Linked DNA regions of Homo sapiens: regions 2 and 3 are each linked to region 1. Evidence: promoter capture Hi-C in 16 types of primary human blood cells and fetal thymus (Javierre and others, 2016). All regions are on one chromosome and are shown on one strand. Each heading gives the region's core, a stretch centred on a gene start or on the middle of the fragment in contact. The rest is flanking DNA. Distances are from core to core; before and after follow the strand shown.

What was found. The method cuts DNA at HindIII sites, captures the fragments that hold promoters and counts their contacts. A CHiCAGO score of 5 or more calls a contact.
Region 2: a contact is called between a fragment that was not itself captured here and the fragment with the promoter of POGLUT1 in region 1, in 1 of 17 cell types (erythroblasts). The highest score is 5.6, in erythroblasts.
Region 3: the fragment with the promoter of TEX55 here is called in contact with the fragment with the promoter of POGLUT1 in region 1 in 4 of 17 cell types (non-activated CD4 T cells, activated CD4 T cells, fetal thymus and 1 more); the score reaches 10.5 in non-activated CD4 T cells.

Annotation. Positions count from the first base shown.
Region 1 is chr3:119,467,447-119,470,504 of GRCh38, reverse strand. It overlaps POGLUT1 (protein O-glucosyltransferase 1), which reads right to left and starts at 1,542. Exons shown (of 11, transcript NM_152305.3): 1 at 1,399-1,542; 2 at 595-685. The coding sequence starts at 1,483. RefSeq lists a silencer at 1,266-1,465 and enhancers at 1,516-1,685, 1,378-1,878. The HindIII fragment of the contact is 3,798 bases long and covers 918-3,058 here.
Region 2 is chr3:119,793,035-119,796,092 of GRCh38, reverse strand. The region is part of intron 1 of NR1I2 (nuclear receptor subfamily 1 group I member 2); the gene reads right to left. Among named protein-coding and RNA genes, the nearest start is that of NR1I2, 12 kb to the right of the region's middle. The HindIII fragment of the contact is 1,648 bases long and covers 813-2,460 here.
Region 3 is chr3:119,144,774-119,147,831 of GRCh38, reverse strand. It overlaps TEX55 (testis expressed 55), which reads right to left and starts at 1,667. Exons shown (of 3, transcript NM_152539.3): 1 at 245-1,667. The coding sequence starts at 1,642. It also overlaps a transcript of IGSF11 not described here. RefSeq lists a silencer at 2,116-2,410. The HindIII fragment of the contact is 11,642 bases long and covers 1-3,058 here.

The DNA.
Region 1 (3,058 bases), core at 293-2,792:
TCCCGGGTTCAAGCGATTCTCCTGCCTCAGCCTCCCGAGTAGCTGGGATTACAGGCACGTGCCATCATGCCCAGCTAATTTTTGTATTTTTAGTAGAGACAGGGTTTCACCATGTTGGCCAGGCTGGTCTCGAAATTCTGACCTCAGGTGATCCACCTGCCTTGGCCTCTCAAAGTGCTGGGATTACAGGCATGAACCACCATGCCCAGCCTGATGTGCATTTTCTAAAGATAACCATCAGGAAATTTAGGACTAGATTCAGCGATAGATGGGTTTATTTCCTCAACAATATTTATCGAGCACGCACTGACAGCTAGCACCAGGGAGACAACAGCAAATAAGACACAGACCCTGACCTCAGGAAGCTTGCAGCCCAGTGGGAAAAACAGATGCACATGCACTGAATCCCGCAGTGAGTCAGTGGTTAGGTTGACACCACCTGAGCCTTTCCCATGCGAGAGCATTTTTATTCCCCAGAAATAGAAAAACATCCTTGCCTTTCTGACCACTGCAACCAAAATCTCTCAAGGATGTTAGAATACTTCCTGTGACAGCAACTAAACTCTCAAAGACACATCAAAGAAAAGAACTCACCCATGGTAGCAGCTGCAGTTTTGACTTGAACATGGTTCGTAATTCTCCAAAGACCTGTTAATTTGGTCAATAAATACTTTCCATTTTGAACCTTTAAAAAGTGAAGTAAATGAGAGTTAAAAAAATTTTCCTGAATGTTATTTGCTGACACCACACCAACAGAAGAAACAGAAGACCAAAACTTTCAGAAATCCCCTTCCCATCCCACTGATGGAAACGAAACGCTAGGGAGGAATTTTTGTGTGTGCAACTCCCACGCTCACGTCAAGTCTGTTCCTCTATCCGGCTGTCAGGTGTCCAAGAAACTGGAAAATTCCCAAGCTTAATGCTCAACCCTCAGAATGCTATGGATAGTGACGCGGACTCTCACTTTCTACTAATCAAATTGAACTCCACAAAGAGGATCAGTTAAAAGCTACAGACATTAAACCCCTCTTCTCTTCTGGCAACGCATATACACACACGCTCGCGCGCACGACATTTGCCCCCATCCCCGACCCCTCAGTGTTTCAGGCAGGTCCAGAGTAGCCAAGCACGGGCCACGCCTCCTGCGGGTGAACGGGGAATTCCCTCTCCTCCCTGTCATTCTGAATTCCGGGGAATGGGTTACTCTCCAGGGTCCAGAGCAGGAGCAGAGACCCCGGCACCTCACTCTCCGCCGCAAGGCGCCCCGGTGCCTTCTGCCCAGCTCCGAGCTACAGCGGCCACGGCATCTTCCCGGGAGCCGGCCGCGCGGGGGAGCGCCTCGGGACTCCGGCCAGACCCCGAGCCCAAGGGGCAGGCTCGGCACTGCCCGGAGCCCACCTGACTCCTTCTGGCGGCCCTGCGCTGAGGGCAGGAGGAACAACAGCAGCCAGAGCCGAAGCGGCGAGCTAGCCCACCACTCCATCGCCGGCAGACCTACTGCAGATTCCCCGCTGCGGCGCTGGCGGAAGCGCGGCCCCGCACAAAGATGGCCCGGGAGCCGCAGCACGTGGGCGGCGGGTCGCCCCGCACAAAGATGGCCACCGTGGCCCCACCACCCTTCCTCCAGTCCCCAGCCTTGAGGCGGAGTTTCCCTGAGAAGGCTGCGCCGGGAAGGTGGGGAGGATAAACGAATGGACCAGTTGCCTATCCTCCCTCCCTGGCACCCCTGGGAAAATAGGTCTGCAGCCAGAAAACTGAAGGTCAGAGAGGGTATGTTTCACGGTTAGTGGCACAACCAAGACTTGGCATAGAGCCTAGGCCAAACAGTTCTTCTCTTGACGTCAAATTGCCTCTTATCAAATAGCATAAATTTGTTGAGCATGTGTGTGTGTGTGTGTGTGTGTGTGTGTGTGTGTGTACAGCACGGTTAGACCCCAAAGGTTGCAATTAGCATAGCAGGGATCCCTTTGTAATAGGAATTTATAACAGTTGGGGTGACTTAGACGTAGGAAAAAAGATCAATGGTGTTAAATAAAGTTTATGGGAGGTCGTTGTTTTGGACAGAACTCTGGCACTAGGCCTCAAGAGAGCAGACAAAACCAGAATGGAGGCAACTTGTCCTAGGTGCTGCGTAATTAAACTCAGCTTTAAAAGGGGTCAGTTTTCCAACAAATAGGAGAAGGGGCCCATATACCTGAGCTGGCATGATAAAGAAGTCCCCTCTGATGTAACTCTTTGAGGAAAGTAACTTCAAAATGACCAATCTGCTTTTTGTTCCTTATTTCTGCTTTCTTCAGCCCTTTTCTGCCTATAAGCCCAACCCCTTCTGCTCAGCTCATTAGAACACTTTTCTGTTTTATAGATGAGATGCTGCCTGATTCATGAATCACTAATAAAAGCCAATTCGATTTTTTTTTTTTTTTGAGACAGAGGACAGTCTAACTCTGTTGCCCAGCCTGGAGTGCAGTGGCACAATCTTGGCTCACTATGACGTCTGCCTCCCGGGTTCAAGCAATTCTTCTGTCTCAGTCTCCCGAGTAGCTGGGATTACAGGAGTGTGTCACCATGCCCGGGTAATTTTTGTATTTTTAGTAAAGACAGGGTTTCACCGTGTTGGCCAGGTTGGTCTCAAACTCCTGACCTCAGGTGATCTGCCCACCTCGGCCTCCCAAAGTGCTGGGATTACAGGCGTGAGCCACCATGCCTGGCCAAGAACTTTAAACTAAATTTGATGAAATTTTGTTTCTTGACAGTGGGCAACATGATACTGGACAATATAGGTATATAGTATAGTACAGGTATATATCTTTATACAGGTATATATAGGTCAGTGTAGATATATTTAGTAATCATAGAACTACAAATATTTATCTATTTTCTTTTTTTTTTTTTTTTTTGAGATGGAGTTTCGCTCTTGTTGCCCAGGCTGGAGTGCAATGGTTCAATATCGGCTCACCACAACCTCCGCCTCCTGGGTTCAAGCAATTCTCCTGCCTCAGCCTCCTGAGTAGGTGGATTACAGGCTTGCGCCACCACACCCGGCTAATTTTGTATTTTT
Region 2 (3,058 bases), core at 387-2,886, 330 kb before region 1:
GAGGACTAAAGAGAAGTGCTGGGAGAAGACTTTGTGCCTTGGGGGAAAGTGAGAGGCAGGGAGGTGATCCACTAGTGACCTTTGGAGTCAAATATTTAGAGACTCAGTGTGAGAACACGGGTGAGTGCTGCAGATACATTTGGGCCAAACAGGAATTGGGTACAGACATGGGAAGTGGTCATCTTTAGTGCAAGAAAGAATGAAATGATCAGTAGAAGGTGCAAGACACTGCCTATTAGGTTGGGAAGTTTAGTGATGATGTAGGGCAAAGGAGAAAATCCCACTATATATTTCTAGCAAAATACTAGAAAAGGGATGATCTACAGGAGAGAAGCCCTTGTCAGGGCGTGGTGGGATATAGTTTGAGAAACACAGAGAGAGGGAAAACTAAGGCAGTGAGAATGGGGGGATTGTAGTTTAGAAAGAGTCAAGAAGCCAAGTGAAAGAAATTCAAGCAAAAGAACAGAACCCAGCCTTGACTATTTCCAGGCACCGGCAATGGGAGGGAGGAGGCAGCATTAGGAGATGAGGAAGGCAGATTAACGGGGAGCCCAGAGAAACTGCAGGTGATGGGCATGTTTCTTAAGAGAATAGGAGAAAAGAAGAGGGCTGCTGGCCATGCAGAGGCTAGAGAAGAGTCACAAGGAAAGGCAGACACCCAGCAGTGCTGTGTGGTCCTAAACAAGGGAGGCAGGGCTGACTGGCTGAGCAGAGCAGGAGACTGAAGGAATTCACAGTACAATGCCTCAGAGCCCTTTTATGTCCCTCTCCTGCCCCACCCTCTTCCCATCCCCCTGCAGGCACACAAAGCTTATCTGTTACTGAGTCATCCCTTAAGGTCTGCCTATGTTGCACTTTGCCCTGCTAAAGGACTCTCCAGGGTCACAGCCGGAGAGTCGCTGTCTGGGACACAGCTAGTCTCCACTTCTGCACTTGCCCAGCTCCCTTACTGGCCTGTGCACTGACCAACCCCAGCCAAGAGCCAACTCCCCAGCTAGTGGTGTTTGGAAGAGCAATTTCATCTGGTGTTCAGGTTAGTCAATGGGCAAGTAGAGGTGCCCTTTAGTCAGCTTACGTGGGTTCTGAGGCTTACACAATTTGGGCAGTCCTATTTTATTTTATTTTACATTATTTAATTTAATTTACTTATTTTGAGACAGAGTTTCAATCTTGTCACTCAGGCTGGAGTGCAAAGGCACGATCTTGGCACACTGCAACCTGTGCCTCCTGGGTTCAAGCAATTCTCCTGGCTCAGCCTCCCAAGTAGCTGGGACCGCAAGGCATGGGCCACTACACCAGATTAATTTTGTATTTTCAGTAGAGACAGGTTTTTCACCATGTTGGCCAGGCTAATCTTGAACTCCTGACCTCAGGTGATCCATCTGCCTTGGCCAACCAAAATGCTGGGATTACAGGCATGAACCATGGCGCTTGGCCTGGGCAGTCCTATTTAAGAAAAAAGAATATAGGCCAGGTGTGGGGGCTCATGCCTCTAATGTCAGCACTTTGGGAGGCTGAGGTGGAAGGATCAATTGTGAGGAGTATGAGACCAGCCTGGACAATATAGCAAGACCCTATCTCTTAAAAAAAAAAAAAAAAAGGCTGGGTGAGTGGCTCACACCTATAATCTCAGCACTTTGGGAGGCCAAAGTGGGAGGATCACTTGAGCCCAGGAGTTCGAGACATGCCTGGGTGACATGGTGAGATCCTGTCTCTACAAAAAAATTTAAAAATTAGCCAAGTGTGGTGGCACGTACCTGTGGTCCCAGCTACTCAGGAGGCTGAGATGAAAAGATTACGTGAGCCCAGGAGGTCGAGGCTGCAGTGAGCCATGTTCACACAACTCCAGTCTGGGCAACAGAGTGAGACTCTATCTCAAAAAAAAACACCCCAAAAAAACAAACAAACAAAAAAACTCAGCCAGGCATGTTGGTGCATGCCTGTAGTCCTAGCTACTTGGGAGGCTGAGGTGGGAGGATTGCCTGAGCCCAGGAATTCAAGGCTGTGGTGAGCTAGGATTGTGCCACTGCATTCCAGCCTGGGTGACAGAGTGAGACCCTGTCTAAAAAATAATTTTAAAAAACACGCAATTACAAATACAAAATTATGTACCGAAGAGAATATTTGTAAGAAAGAATGAGAAAAGAAATCACAACAAATGACAGACATTAAAAAGGACAAGTAACAACATCACAGAATTCAGAAAAATGTCATAACACTTTCATTAATTAATTGCCTGGCATGCCTCTATAATGTTTTTGATCGTGTCCTTATGGTAGATAGAATAAAGGCCCTCAAAGATGTCTGCACCCTTATCCCCAGAACATGTGAATATGTTTCCTTATATGGCAAAAGGGTCTCTGCAGATGTGATGAGGGTACAGAACCTGGAGATGGGGAGTGTGCTGAATTATCCAGGCAGGCCTAGTCTAATCACATGAATCTTAAAATTAGAAAAGCTTTCCTGGGTTTGATCAGAGAAAGAGACGTAATGTGGAAAAAGGGTCAGATGCTAAGTTGCTGGCTTTGAAGATGGAAGAAGGGGCTGTGAGCCAAGGATTGCCACGGCATCTAGAAGCTGGAAGAGGTGAGGAAACTGATCCTCCCCTACAGCCTCCAGAAGGCAGCCTCCACTGATTGGGCAGAGTTGGGATCGCTTGGCCCACGGTGGTCCTGTCCTGCCTCTCTGCTGCACTGTAACTCTTTAATCTTGCCTGAGTGGTAAGGATTGAGGCTGTTCATTTTCCTTGTGGTAACTCTGGAGGGGAAAAAGTGGACTTTGGCTAGAAGAGAATGGGTGGGCAGCAAGTTTCCAGAGTTACAGTGAGATCTGATTGTGTTAGTCCATTTTGTATTGCTACAAAGGAATCTGAGGCTGGGTAATTTATGAAGAAAAGAGGTTTGTTTGGCTCGTGCTTCTGAAGGCTGTACAAGCTTGGCACCAGCATCTGCTTCTGGTGAGGTCTCAGGAAGCTTCCAAGCATGGTGGAAGGTGAAGTGCGAGCCGGCATGTCACACAGCAAGAGGGAGCAAGAGAGAGAGGAGGTGCCGGGCTCTTT
Region 3 (3,058 bases), core at 418-2,917, 320 kb after region 1:
GAATCCTGGTTTATTAATCCTTCCTGAATGGCCTTTGGGTAGTAGAGAAGGCAATAATTCTCTTTTATTTCCCATCCTTCTCTTGCCCTTCCTGAAATTATGGGTCACACATACCACAACATGTGGGTTTATTCTTTATCCTTGATGCAACATGTGCCCTTCCGTTGTACCCCTATTTTTACTCTCCAGGCCCCGTCTAGATCTCTGATCTCCCAGGTAGGTATCAAATGCCCATTTAACTTACAGATTTGGTTACTATGGCTTGAGTTTTTTCTTGACTGCTGGTATAGTTCAATTTGGATGAGATGGAGGGGAGTCTTGGGAAAAGAGCTTGGTCTTTTGCTTGGAAGTTACTGGTGAATCTGGCATCAACTGGGTTGTAGGGTGGGATAGTGGTTGCATTCTGAGTTTCCATTTCAACTGAAGGCTTGGAATTGAGGTCTACTTGGCTATCCTCAAATTTGCAGGGTTGTACTCTGTAGTCAGCCTCTTTGTCCTCTTTGCTGTTGCCTAACTGGGGAAATATTCTGTCTTCAGACTGGCCACGTGTTTCATAGTAAGACAGCTGGTCTTTATGATTAGCTTGTCTGTCTGCTAAGTGGTCAGTCTGGTCAGATTCAGTGTAGTGAGCATTGTCAACTGGAGGTTGATCAGCATTACTATGAGCTTGGTCAATAGCCTGGTGTTCAGCTAGTTCAGTGGCTTGGCCGTACACTTGGTGGTGAGTCTTTACAGATGTTTTGTGGTCAACGAGGCCATACAATCTGAGGTCAGTCTGCTCAGAAGTTCCTGGGTCAGCCAGGCCAGCCAATCTGTAGTCAGTCTTCTCAGAACTTCTTCTCCTAACTTTCCCTGACATTCTGCGGTCAATCTGTACGGAAGGTCTTTGGTCAGATGGTACGGACGATCCACTGTCAATCTGTACAGAAGGACTTTGGTCAGATGGGACGGATGACCCACTGTCAATCTGCACAGAAGGTCTTCTCTCAGATAGTTTGGATAATCTGTGTGTAATCTGCTCAGAAGTTCTTCGCTCAGCCTCGCCAGACATTCTGCGGTCCATCTGCTCGGAAGCTCTTCTCTCAGACTGGCCTGCCATTCTGTGGTCGGTCTGTCTGGAACCTCTCTGGTCAGATGGCATAGCCAGTCTACCATCAATCTGCCCAGAAGTTCTTCTCTCAGCCTGGGTAGGTAATCTTCGTTCAGTCTGTTCAGCAGTTCTTTCCTCCGTCAGGCCAGACACCTGACCATCACTCTGTTCATGCTGTACATTATTAGCTTGGCTAGATGCCTTGCCTTTAGTCTGTTCAGACGGTGTTTGATTAACCTGATCATCTGCTCTAAGGTCAGAAACATCAGCAGGGTTGGATGCTCTGCGGCCAGCCTGACCAGGTGTACTATGCCCATTTTGTTCAGCTACTCCGTTGGTAGCTTGGCTAAATATGCTGGATTCAGCCTGGCTAGGCACTCTTAGGGCAGTCTGGTCAGCTATTCTGTGAGCAGTGTGGTTATCTGCCTTCCTTTCGGCCTGGTTCTTCTGGTCGTCTTCTTCCTGGCCCTTAGTGTGGCCAGCACTTGAGGGAGCGGCTGGGCTTTCATGTTTCAAGGGTTCAGCCAGAGCCTCTTGCGGAGGCTCTTCCATTTCCTGCCGCGTCCCTGACTGGTCTAGGTTGCCAGGCACTGTGGGTGGGGTTGGGCTGGGTCGTCTAGGCGACCCTCCAGGAACGCCCCATGATTCCCACGGGCTTTGTTCGGGTCACTGCGTGCGTCAGGGAGAGTGGCCGTCCCGCTGTTGTAAGTGGAGGGACGGCAGTCAGCTGACCCTGCAGTGTGCAGGCGAGCGCAGGGAGTACGCCATGTCCTGAGAAGGGGCGATTCTCAGGCTCTGGCAGTTACAGCTTCTCCTCACCCTGCCGAGCAACCAGGCCACGGGGCTCCGTGCATCGCCACCTAGAGTGTTACCCTCTTCCTTGTTCACAGAGGTTCTCCGCAGTGTGTGAGAAAGAGGCCCTCTCTCAGGTACTGCTCCTCTGATTAACATCCCCCACCGCACCTCCAAATGTCAACAGATGAACACACAACCAGCTGCACGAGGACCACAAAACTGAACAGAGGTTGTTGCTATTGCCATCCCCTTTGGGTATAGCTGTCTTGGCAGTGGAAACTCCTGCCCCAAGGTGTTTTCTTGCTGGATTAGACATGTGATCTGTGGCGGGAGAGCCAGAGAGAGGAGAGAAGATCCAGTGAGAATGGGTTCTAAAACTGCACCATCTAGTGGTCTTACAGCAGAGAGGCGAGTTAGAAGGAGGCCAAATCAGAGTTCCAGAAAGGAAGGGAGTAAGGAAAGTGGGAGAAAGATACCAGAAGGAATATTTAGCAAGTGGAGAATTTGTATTTGATAGTGTTGGCCAGTGGGGCCCAGTTTTTGAGATTTGGTCCTCCCACTTTGCAATCAACCTTAAGAATGCACCTCAGAGTCAGTAGGCTGTCTACTTTCAGGAGTAGGCCAGTACAGAGGTGGTGATTGATGAGACAAATTACTTTGACCTTGCAAAGCCTGAAATCACTGAGGCAGGCCAAGGGTTGGTAGTGTGATGCCAGATATTCCTTTAGTAGGGATTTAACTGCATTAAACAATTAGAAATGAGACTTAAAATCCAAATTCAAATACTTGTGACAAAGGAGAGTGGATACACTTGACACCATACTTAGGAATGGAAAGGGGAATCTAAGCACACTGAAGTAAAGTCATTTATGTAACAGTGCCTAGAACATAATAGGTGCTCAAGAAGTGCTTGTTGAATGTCACTTTATGAATTATCTACCTTATTTATTTAAAAATGCATGACACCATTGGATACTGTGTTTAGAGTAAAATAGGTCTTGGGCTATGGCTTGTAGCTTCAAAGTGCTATTGGTTTTGGAGATTTATTTTTCCATTTTATAACTTAAATGTAATAATCATAGAAATATAAAAAAGAAAGCGTAAAGAAAAAAATTCCCAAACACTCAAGAGATAACCTGTATTGACATTTTGATGTTTATCCTTCTGGAAATA